2 separate regions of the Homo sapiens genome follow, and region 1 is linked to region 2. Evidence: promoter capture Hi-C in 16 types of primary human blood cells and fetal thymus (Javierre and others, 2016). All regions are on one chromosome and are shown on one strand. Each heading gives the region's core, a stretch centred on a gene start or on the middle of the fragment in contact. The rest is flanking DNA. Distances are from core to core; before and after follow the strand shown.

Region 1 (5,888 bases), core at 2,791-5,290, 310 kb before region 2:
ATTTATTTATTTATTTATTTATTTATTTATTTATTTTTGAGATGGAGTCTGGCTCTTCCACCCAGGCTGGAGTGTGATGACGCGATCTTGGCTCACTGCAACCTCTGCCTCCTGGGTTCAAGCGATTCTCCTGCCTCAGTCTCCTAAGTAGCTGGGATTACAAGTGCCTGCTACCATGCCTGACTAATTTTTGTATTTTTAGTAGAGACGGGGTTTCACCATGTTGGCCAGGCTGGCCTCCAACTCCTAACCTCAGGTGATCCACCCACCTTGGCCTCCCCAAAGTGCTGGGGTTACAGGCAAGAGCCACTGCGCCTGGCCTTAGAGGCTTTTAAAAAAGCAACTTTAGGCATTAATTTATCCTTGATCTTAATCTTTAGGGCACTTTAAAAATTATTATTAATTGACAAATAACAATTATATATATTTGTGGGGTATTTGATGTGATATTTTAATGGATACATCAAAGTCTCTTTAGAAGAACAAAACTTTAAAAAGAAATGGTCACACAATGACTTTAGAATGAAGAATTTTATTTCTATAAAATAGGCAGTATTTTATTTCTTCCCAAAGAAATCTAAAGGTTCAGGAAAAAATAGTGTGGGTTCCATTACACGAACATGACCTTTATTCACGGGTGAATGGGAAAAGACTGGCACCTGAATAGAGAGTCCTCCCCTTCCCCTGCCTCAGGAAAATAGTTTTTCTTATTTTACTTCCTAATTAACTCACTCCTTGAAATAAGGGCATACCTCCTTGTACTAAGCTAGTTGCGAAATTTGATCTTGATACATGTGATTTTTTTTTTTTTGAGATGGAAACCCCATCTCTACTAAAAATACAAAAATTGGCCGGGCGCAGTGGCTCATGCCTGTAATCCCAGCACTTTGGGAGGCCGAGGCAGGCGGATCACGAGGTCAGGAGATCCAGACCATCCTGGCTAACATGGTGAAACCCCGTCTCTACCAAAAATACAAAAAATTAGCTGGGCATGGTGGTGTGCGCCTATAATTCCAGCTACTCCGGAGGCTGGAACAGGAGAATCACTTGAACTCAGGAAGCGGAGGTTGCAGTGAGCCGAGATGGCACCACTGCACTCCAGCCTGGGTGATAGAGCAAGACTCCGTCTCAAAAAAAAAAAAAATCCTTTAACCCCGAAACCTTATTAATCCTCACTTTGGGATTATTTGTTCTTGTGGCCCCATGAGAGACACTGCCAGGCTGGCCTACTTCAGAGTTTCCCAGAGGGAAATGGTAAGAAGAAAACTCTAGAAAGCTCTTCTGGTGAATCATACGATGTTGATTTTTCTTGATGACTCACAAGAATCAGGATGTAAAAGAAAACTCAATTCTTATTAGTCACCGACAACTTGAGTGGAGTCACTTGCTGTTTTCATGCATGTTTCTACATACACTTTGGGACAGCCTCCATGCTGGAAGTCAGGTAAAAGAGGTGGTGCAGCTCCCCAAGCGTGGTCTACACAGGCTGAGGGCAAAAGGCCCAGTGGGCCCTCTGGGGTCCCTGCTGTGGATGCTGTCCCAGCATTAATATCCATCCAACCAACTGGATAAACATCAGGACTTCACAAGCACACTTCAAAAAAACTGCTTTGCAAAATGCTCATCTGTTACTACTTAAAAGCTGAAAAAAACAATTATTCTTAAAAGTTACCAAACATTCTTCATCCAGTAACTCCAGAATTCCCATTTTTGCTTCAATCAGGTCAATAACTGGTTGATTGTCATAAAAATCTATCAGCGTCCAAGGTATATCTTCCTTCATGTATTCTTCTTGTTCCAGTTTGAAGACATGCTGGGAATCCAAAGTTAATACAGAAAGTAAAACAGAATATTAAAATACGTTTCCAAAGAGCAGGATGTAAGCATTTGGAAAATGTAAATGGTTGATCTGTAATATTTATGTTTAAAAAGAAGGACCCTGAAGTATAGACAAGGCCCATACCGTGATCAATACCGCCGAGTTCCTAAAGCGAGTCTAGCTGTCATCCTCCCACCTAGTCTGAGTGGGTCTCTACCTCCTAGGACATGGCTTGGGCCAGCCTGTGTCACCACCAGCACCACATGGTACTCAGTGTGGTCCTACAGCCCCTTCCTGCTAGCAGCTATCCAAGGACAGATCCAGCCTCTTTGGCCTAATGCAGCCTGGCTGGGTGGAGCCAGCTACCTGAGAATGCTAGCTGCGGGGCCGGTGGGAGAAGCCCACTGCTTAGAGATCTTCGTGCACTACTCACTTGGGCTGTAAGGGTATCAGGGAGGCTTCCCAGAGGATGTACTCAGGCTTACCATGGAGGATGAAAGAAAGTTTGGCTGGCAGGTGGTGAGGTGGGGTAGGGTGGGGTGGGGTGGGGCATCAAGAAAACCCTCCTATGGAGGAATCCCAGTGGGAACCACATGAAAGCTCAATGGGTGCTTGAGAAACGCACCTCAAGCAGGTTAGAAATTACAGGAGGACAGCAGCAATGTGGTGGCAAAGAATGGTACAGTCAAATCACCTGAGACCTTCACACCCTCCTTAGAGAATTCTGGGCCTATGGCCTTTTTCTAGGAGCAGTGAGGACCCGCTGGAGGGCGGAGGGGTTATGATGAGACCTGGAGGATGGCTCAGAGGAGGGAAGAACCGGAGGCAGTGAGACCAATGAGGACTCAGCCCGATGCTCTTGATGGCTGGGACTCAGGGAGGAGGAAGAGGAGCGAAGAGGTCAGGATGAATGTCAGGCTCAGGACATGGGGTCCATGGCGTGACTTGACCACAGAAAGTCACGTGGAGGGTAAGCGGGCTGAGAGGAGAAGGTGGCACCGGCACTTCTACACTTGCTACTGCTGAGCTCCCTGGGGGCATCAGGTGCAAGGCCCAGTGGCAGCCAGAAGAGGGGGACTGGAGATCAGGAGAGTCCTACCCAAAGCTTTCTGTGCTGACAATTGAAGATACTACCCCTCCTGGGAGGATCTACACATTGATGGATGACTCAGAAAAAGGAGAAGAGGAAAAAGGAAGAGAAGGAGGAGGAAGTGGAAGAGGAAGAAGAACAGGAGAGGAGAACAAAAGCAAAAAAAAAAAAATAGAATTACAGCCTCTGATTTGTGATTTTTGGCAAGACATCTGGTATAAGTGTCACTTTGAGGTTAAGGTGGACATGTTGGGGAGCAGCACGCCATTGCAGCCAGGGAACAGGGTAGCAGCCACAGAGAGTTTGACTTCAGGTGAGTTATACTGAATATGCACTTGGAATAAACCTCAGCTGTAGTTATTAATGTTAAACTTCCAGGAGAGCCTTGCAAATGCTAAAGAAATGAAATTTACAATGGAATGAAATTTAATGGTTATACATGAATTAATTCTGGGCCAAAAAAAAAAAAAGAAACTTCTACTGAGTAGGATTCAATGTTAGGTCTTCTCACAATATTAGACAGTTATTATTGACTCTTTTTAAATTGATACATAATAGTTGTACATAGTTTTGTGGTACATGTGATATTCTGACACATACATACAATGTGTAATGATGACTCATTTTTAAAACAAGGAAACAGAGGCTCAGAGAACCCAAGGTCCCAGAGGGAGGTGGTAGAGCTGAGATTCAAACCCAATTTAGTTTGAGCCAAAGCCCACACTCTCCAAGACGTCATGCTATGTTTTCCTCAGGGGTTCTGAGGGAGCATAAGACTGGACACTAACAAAGGTATAACCTTTCCTTGGAGTAACTGTTAGGGTATTAAAGTGTGATTTCTATTATGAACTGGAATCACCATTCTTCCCATAAACATGTAGCCAAAGTTTAGAATGTAAGCTAAAGGGAAAATGTGAGTTAGTAAAGCATTTTAGCTTTCATGGCTTTTCAGAAACAGAGCCAAATATAAATGTTAAGGAGGCAATTATAAAAAAAATATGAGAGTAGTTTCATGGTAGGGCCAATGTAGAAAGATGTTCAATCAACTTTTAATTTCATTGACTTCTGTTAGGAGCAGAAAGGCGTCAGTACTGTTGGGAATTCAAAAGTGAATTCAATAAAGTTCTTGCATCTAGGGAACTGATTTAAGAGGTTGAAATTGTATTCAATACACATAGCAATAATAAATGCCCAAACAGCCACAAGTAGCATTTACTCAACATTTTTTAAATTGTTTTATTCATCTTTCTACCTCAGCACTTAACTTGGTACCTGGTATACACAGTATACACTCAAAAACGTCTTTTGAATAAACAAATCTTCCCAGTGGAAAAAAAAAATTGGAATCCATCTCCTGTCTGTTTCCATGGGATGATACATTTGATCTTATTGTTAGTTAGGAAGGTACCATATATGTCTTGTTCTAAATTAAGGTTGGAGAAACTCATTCCCATAATCCATTGGCCATCTGCTGTTTAGTGCTGCATGTGCCGAGATAAGCACTGGGCTGAGAGAGACAAAGAATGCCAGTCCTGGCCTCTCCAGGTGACCAAGTCTATTTGGAAACTTGCATGCAAATGATGATAATTCCATGTGACAGGCCTGCGATAAGGAAGCACATAGGAAGAGGCCAGGAGGTATCGCAGGAGGCTCTCAGGGAAGCTGGATCTCAAAACACAAGCTGGAGTTGGCCACGTGAAGATAAAGCAATGGGGAAATAACAGGAGCACGTGGGTTAAGGCAGAGAAAGCAGCAAGTGCAAAGACAGAGAGGCTCGAAAGAAAGTGGAGGCCTCAGGCAACCAACTAAATAGTTTTGTCTGGCTGCACAGAGGGTCTGTATCCAAGAAGGGCAGTGAGGCTCACACATTGGCAGGTGATTCAAAAAAGATGAAATAGATGAGAGGGTGTGATTTCAAGATTTGGCCACAAGGTGGTGCAGTGACCCAGCGTGAGGCTCCTTGCATAAAAATTTGCAACCTCAAGAAAGAAGAATGCCTCTTTCCACGAACACACACACACACACACACACACACGCGCGCGCGCGCGGCTGAGAACTAGTCAAGAAGGCAGAAAGGTCACCTACCATGTTAAACTGTTGTTGCAGTTTTTCATTAGCGTAATTGATGCAAAATTGTTCAAAGCTGTTCACATCAAAGGTTTCAAAACTGAAATACAATTTAAACAAGTTAAAATATAACCTGAAGCAAGACATATGCATTTGTTTATAGATATTTTTTGACACTTAAAAGCTTAAACGTTTGCTATGTCTTCTACAAGTTTTAAATACCCCTCAAAGCTTCTGGTTTTAATGATATCCTAGTAGTCAGTTTATAAATAACCCTTTTCCTGGTTGTCCCCCGGAAGAAATCTGGTAGGTATAAAACACCTACCTCAAGCCAGGCATTAAAATAAGCATGTCACCATATGGTGTAGTCCGCACAACAACAGTGATATTGGCAATTATTATTCTGACTTTATAGGTCAGAAAATAAGCCCGAGAGGTTAAGAAACTTGCCAAAGGTCACACAGCTTGTGTCAGAACTTAGCTGCGAAGCTGCCTGACTGTGATGCCTGTGCCTCCAATGAGAAGGCAATGTGGTTTCCTATTCTCTCCTTGTCTGTTGAGGGGAGGAGCAGCACAACTGCAGCACAATTTTGCCTCCCTAAGGGGTGCTTTCATAGCTCCTAGAGGAAAAGGGCAAAGTCATTTCATATCCTACAGCCCAGCACACCCCATCAGGGACGAGACAGACATGGCTGGCTTCCATATTCAGACTTTCATCAGCTGCCTCTGCAGTTGCCTTGGAGTTGCAAGCTCAAGAACTGAGAGGAGCCCTTGGGGAGGCAGCTGCTACTCAGCTCCTGCCGGATGTAGCCATGGATGAATGCGGCCCAGGATGTTAGATTAATTGATTCTTAAGAAAAGTCAGAAAACTGGGACTTTTAAGTGAATAATCCCACTCTGCAAAACGTGGGC
Region 2 (6,460 bases), core at 502-3,001:
GAGAAAACGTTCAAGCTATCCTTAATATTGTTAAAAGATACATTAGGCTTTTCCAAGTAAAAGTATTTACACTCTAGAAGTCAATACTGCATACTTTGGCAACATACTAACAGAACTTATCAAAGAAAATTACATAGCACACTACTGTGCACCAGAAGTTAATGCTAAGTTTGATGTAAGTGTTTAAGGCAAACCACCACAGACAGGGACTTGTTATTTTTGGGGGCTCCTAAATTTCAAGCAATAATGAACACAATACGCATTTTACAATAAGCAGGTGATACTTAATAATACTGTTAAGATTGCAAACTTTAATATTTGTATTTTTGCCCCCAAAATCCATTTTTTTGGTAATGCGTAAATATATCTATTTTCACGGGATATTCTCAAATAATGTGGTAACTTGGACTTTTACCTATGCTATATGTTTTCTTGTTTTTCAATTACTTTAACATCCTAACAGAAGCACCCAACTTAAGAAAAGTTAACACGGTTTTAAGAACATATGGAATGGGCTTAGAACACTAATCCAATTCCCAACTTAATTAGGACATAAGTGCAACATTAAGCAGAAACCCGCACGAAGGTCAAGCAGTAGACCAAAATCGTATTTAACGGCAACACAACCTGATTTGTAAGAAAAATTGTTGATAAACAATTTAGGAGACAAGATACCTCGGCCCTTTCTCACTTCTCGGCCAGTCACACCTGCCTAGGAGGGCAGGGCGGTGGAAATAATTACAGTGGGAGAGACAAACACCAGCCTAGATAAATACAAAGGCTTGATATTCATAATTTGAACCACAGTGACACTCCCGGCCTATTCCCCTACATCAGGAAGACACAAGGGCGTTTACAAAATATTCCTGTTTCCAATAAAACCCTGATTAATTTCGTGAGTAAAATTTTAAAATTCCACCCTTTCGATTTTTAGTCAAGTACCATATTTGAGTCCCATCGACTGAAACCTTTTTGAGCACAGACTGCGCTGCACACTACACCTGACTCACCTCCTCTAGGCCTCACCCCGCCGTGGGAGGCAAGCACCAGTATTCGGCCTTTACAGGTGAAGACACTGAAGGCCGGACTTTACTCACTGACCATGGTTACAAGGGTTGGCCCTGAAATGCCAATCCTGGCCCACATCGCGGCCCGCACACGAGGCACTGCTTTTGGAGTGAACCGCACGCTCACAATACAAGTAGTTGGAGAGTTCTTCAAAGGAAAAAATAAAACTTCCTAACCAAATTGAGGCTTACAGAAAAACTTAGGCTCTACGCCCAAAGCCTGCGTCCTGGGCTCTCGCGTAAATATAAGTGACTGAGGAACACCGCGACCCACGGAGGTGTTACAAAAGGCACGATTCGGAGTAAACGCGGGGCACGTTGGAACTCCCAATTCGTCGGCGCACCAGCCAGCGACGGCGGGAAGCCAAAGGTGGGGCGCAGGAGCCTCGGCCTCATGCGCCTCGGCCCCGCATCTCGGGCGCGGCCCTCCGCCTGGCGGGAGCAGGCCGCCCGCCAGACCCGGCCTTGGGCAGGGCCCAGGGCTCACGCCCCGCGCGCTCACCTTCTGCTCCTCCGCGGAGGCTGCCTCGGGGACTTCCGCAGACATAGTGCTCCCTCTGCAGACGAGACGCCGGGAAAAGATGCAATTAGCGGGTGGCCGAGGCCACCCGGCCGCCGCCCGTCCCAGCTCTCCCAGGGCCCGCCGGGCCGCCTCCGCCCGCGAAAATGGCCGCCGCCTTATGACGACACGGAGCCGCGAAACGCTCCGCTGGCCAAGGCCCTCGCACGCCGGAGCCCGCCTGCCCCTCCCGCACCGCACCCCTACCTACTTGACCCCGCTTCTCCCGCTCGCTGTCGTCCAAACACTTCCTTTTTTCCTTCAAAGGTCGCCGCTCCTGCCTCACCTCACATCCGTTTGTGGCTGCCGAGTGCTTCCTGGGAATTGTAGTTTCTAAGTGGAACCGCCCCTCCCCGCCCTTTCCTGTCCACTCTGGTCCCCTCGTTCTAGGAGCTTTATTTTACTCTTTCCACTTACCCATCCTCGCCTAGTTCTGTTCTCCTCGCTCTCCGCTCTGTAGCCACACAGGCTGTCTTTTGGGCACGCCAAAAGTCTTGCTCCACTCTGCCACGCCTTCACATCTCCAGTCCTACGTCTCTGCCTCAGAACCTTTCCTTCCTAAACCTCTACACTAGGCCAGAGCCACCTCTTAAAGGCTGTCACAGCCCTGTACAGTTCCTCAACAACATGAACTGTATCATTACACAATTGTCGTGACTTTAGGTCACCTTTCCTTCTCAGATAAGCCGCACCAGGGCAGGGATCTCGTCTGTAATTACTTATATTTTACTCTGAGGGTCCAGCACTTCCTAGATATCTAACGAAGGAATTCAGATTCATTTGTCCACTCCCAGGGGGTCCACTCCCACAAGCTTACCGAAACTGCTAGCATTGAGCTCCCCCAATGACCTTTTTATTTGCCAAGTCCTGCGGCTTCTTACTGAATCCTCATTCTACTTGATATCTGAATAGTTACTCGCAATGTTTGTTGGTTCCAACAAAGTGTCCCTCAGAAACTTGGAAATAAGATTGCCCTCTAAAAGTTAAACTAGTAAAAAGCCACAGAAAATGAATGCATTTCTGGGGGCAGGGGAACAATTGAAAGACCCTAAATGCCTGGATAAGGAATTTGGAAACCATCGAAACTCAACCAGGATGTAGAATCTCAGACAGGAAGAATTGCACTGGAATTGCAACTAGAAAAACAAAAAGAGTTAATATTGCACTCCTTTTGGAGAAACGAAGGAAGGCATTTGTCAGCCAAGGAAGTATTGAAAATAAAAGGGTTCAACAGGCCAACTGTTTGACAAAGATATCCCTTAAGAATGTCTCACGCTGGGCTAGCTGAGAAACTGTAAGATCCACGACATATTTGTTCTCCTTCTATACTCACAAAGTAACATACTGAAAATTTGCCTTTCCCTTAAGCAGAACTGCAGAGAGAAAGAAGAGTGCAGTAGTTAGGCCACTGAAGCATTTAACAGTTGTATTTTTATTAATAAATTGACTGACGTTCTAGTATATGTCCTATATCAATGTATTTGTGAACTTGAGTTAAAATCTGATAGACATACACTTAATGATGAAACTCAGCCTCAAGAAAATTGGCTGTGGCTGGGCACAGTGGCTCACTCGTAATCCCAGCACTTTGGGAGGCCAAGGCGGGCAAATCGCTCGAGCTCAGGAGTTCAAGACCAGCCTGGCCAACATGGCAAATCTCTGTCTCTACAAAAAGAAAAAAAACTTTTTTTTCTTTTTCTTTTTGAGACAGAGTCTCAACTCTGTCACCCAGGCTGGAGTGCAATGGCACAATCTCGGCTCACTGCAACCTCCACTTCCTGGGTTCAAGCAATTCTCCTGCCTCTGCCTCCCAAGTAGCTGGGATTACAGTTGCCCACCACCACACCCTGATAATTTTTTGTATTTTTAGTAGAGACAGGGTTTTGCCGTGTTGTCCAGGCTGGTCTCGAACTCCCGGCCTCAAGTGATCCACCCGCCTCGGCCTCCCAAAGTGCTGGGATTATAGGAGCGAGCCACCACATCTGGCCTTTTTTTTAAAATTGGCTATGTGACCTTGGATAAAAAGAATCTGTTTCTGATAGTGACACTCGCAGAAGGGGAAGTTTGAATTTCTGGGGGCAGACTTTGGTCAAATGGAGAATTCACCATGGGCAATGCTCCACAATGAGGACCTGTCTGGAAAGCCATTCTTTCCCAACTAACACCACTCTGCATCATTATGAACCTTAATGTGTAAAACTGCACACTGGTCCCCAGCACCCTGTTTGTCAAAACTTCCTTCTCTTGATCTCCAGGATACTATTGTCTCATGGATTTCCTCCTACTTAACCTCCCTGTTGAATCTTAACCTGCCTCTTAATGGGAGGATTCTAACAGTTCTGTCCTTGGATCTCCTTCTCTTCTATGTTTACACAGCCTCCAGGAAATAACTTCCACCTTCATAGTTTTTTTTCTTTTTTGAAACAAAGTGTCACTCTGCCACCCAGGCTGGGGTGCAGTGGCACCATCTCAGCTCACTGCAATCTGCCTTCTAGGTTCAAGTGATTCTCCTGCCTCAGCTTCCCAAGTAGCTGGGACCACAGGCACATGCCACCATGCCCGGCTAATTTTTGTATTTTTAATAATTGTAGGCCTGGCACGGTGGCTCACACCTGTAATCCCAGCACTTTGGGAGGCCGAGGCGGGTGGATCACTTGAGGTCAGGAGTTCGAGACCAGCCTGGCCAACGTGGTAAAACCATCTCTACTAAAAATACAAAAATCAGCTGGGCATGGTGGTGGGCACCTGTAATCCCAGCTACTTGGGAGGCTGAGGCAGGAGAATTGCTCAAACCTAGGAGATGGAGGTTGTAGTGAGCTGAGATCATATCACTGCACTCCAGCCTGGGCAACAAGAGCAAAACTGTTTCAAATAATAATAATAATAATTTGTAAAGACGGGGTGTTGCTATGTTGGCCAGGCTGGTCTCAAACTCCTGGCCTCAAGTGCTCGGCCTGCCTCGGCCTCCCAAAGTGCTAGGATTACAGACTTGAGCCACTGCGCCCGGTGGACATTCATAGTCTAAACTGCCATCTAGGGATACCTTGTTTTTTGGGGCTTCATTTTATTGTACTTCTAGATACTGCATTTTTCACAAATTGAAGGTTTGTGGCAATCCTGCATCCAGCCTCTATAGGCGCCATTTCTCCAACACCATGTGCTTACTTTGTGATCGTGTGTAACATTTGGGTAATTCTTGCAATATTTCAAACGTTTTCATTATTATTATATCTATTATAGTGATCTGTAATCAGTTATCTTTGACATTACTATTGTAATTTTGGGGGAGTACCACAAACCACTCCCACATAAGACAGTGAACTTAACCAATAAATGTGTATGCTCTGACTGCTGTACCAACCAGCATTCCCCTGTCTCTCTCTCCTTGGGCTTCCCTATACCCTGAGACACAACGATATTGAAATTAGGCCAAATTATAACCCTACAATGGCCTCTAAGTGTTCAAGTGAAAGGAAGAGTTGCATATCTCTTCCTTTAAATCAAAAGCTAGAAATGGCCAGGTGCGGTGGCTCATGCCTGTAATCCCAGCATTTTGAGAGGCTGGGGCTGGTGGATTGCTTGAGCCCAGGAGTTTGAAACCAGCCTTGGCAATATGGTAAACTTCGTCTCTACCAAAAATACAAAAATTAGCCAGTCTCATAACCCGGTCTCTAAATAAACAAATAAATAGATTAAACATTTTTAAAAAGCTGGAAATGATTAAGCTTCGTGAGGAAGGCATGTCAAAAGCTGAGACAGCCAAAAACTAGGCCTTTTGTGACGAAGAGTTAGCCAAGTTATGAATGCAAAGGAAAGTTATTGAAGGAAATTAAAAGTGCTACTCCTGTGAACACATGAATGATATGAAAACGAGACAGTCTTATCGCTGATATGGTCCAAGTTTTAGTGATCTGTATAGGAGAGCAAACCAGCCACAACACTCCTTTAAGCCAAAGCCTAATCCAGAACAAGGGCTTAGCTGTCTTCAATTCTGTGAAGTCTCAGAGAGGTGAGGAAGCTAAAGAAGAAAAGTTTGAAGCTAGCAGAGGTGAGTTCATGAAGTTTAAAGAAAGAAGCCATCTTCATAACATAAAAGTATAAGGCAAAGTAGAAAGTGCTGATGGAGAAGCTGCAGCAAGTTATCCAGAAGATCTAGCTAAGCTAATTGACTAAGGGGGCTACAATGAGCAACAGATTTTCAATGTGGACAAAACGACCTTCTGTTGGAAAATGTCATCCAGGAGTTTCATACTAGAGGAAGTCAATGCCCGGCTTCGAAGCTTCAAAAGACAGGCTGACTCTCTTCTTAGGGGCTATTGTGGCTGGTGTCTTTAAGCTGAAGCCAATGCTCATTTACTATTCTGAAAATCCTAGGGTTCTAAATCTGCTCTACCTGTACTCTGCAAATGGAACTACAAAGCCTGGATGACAGCACATCTGTTTACAACATGGTTTAGTTAATATTTTAAGCTCACTATTGAGACCTACTGCTCAGAAAAAAAAAATCCTTTCAAAATATTGTAGCTCATTGACAATGCACTTGGTCTCCTAAGAGCCCTGATGGAGGTGTACAAGGAGATTAATGTTGTTTTCATGCTTTCTAACGCAACATCCATCTTGTAGTCCATAGATCAAGGAATAATTTCAACTTTCAAGTCTTTTTTTTTTTTTGAGTTGGAGTCTTGCTCTGTTGCCCAGGCTAGAGTGCAGTGGGTGCAATCTCAGCTCACTGCAGCCTCTGCCTCTCGGGTTCCAGCGATTCTCCTGCCTCAGCCTGTTGGGTAGCTGGGATTTACAGGCACACACCACCACAGCTGGCTAATTTTTTTATTTT

What was found. The method cuts DNA at HindIII sites, captures the fragments that hold promoters and counts their contacts. A CHiCAGO score of 5 or more calls a contact.
Region 1: a fragment that was not itself captured here is called in contact with the fragment with the promoter of ARPP19 in region 2 in 6 of 17 cell types (endothelial precursors, fetal thymus, M1 macrophages and 3 more); the score reaches 6.5 in endothelial precursors.

What each region holds. Positions count from the first base shown.
Region 1 is chr15:52,251,645-52,257,532 of GRCh38, forward strand. MYO5C (myosin VC) reads right to left here. Exons shown (of 41, transcript NM_018728.4): 11 at 4,995-5,076; 12 at 1,673-1,813. Among named protein-coding and RNA genes, the nearest start is that of MIR1266, 23 kb to the right of the region's middle. RefSeq lists an enhancer at 5,673-5,888. The HindIII fragment of the contact is 2,236 bases long and covers 2,923-5,158 here.
Region 2 is chr15:52,567,279-52,573,738 of GRCh38, forward strand. ARPP19 (cAMP regulated phosphoprotein 19) reads right to left here and starts at 1,752. Exons shown (of 3, transcript NM_006628.6): 1 at 1,570-1,752. The coding sequence starts at 1,614. RefSeq lists enhancers at 603-1,351, 1,352-2,098, 2,152-2,281 and silencers at 1,452-1,551, 1,622-1,681. The HindIII fragment of the contact is 6,860 bases long and covers 1-2,436 here.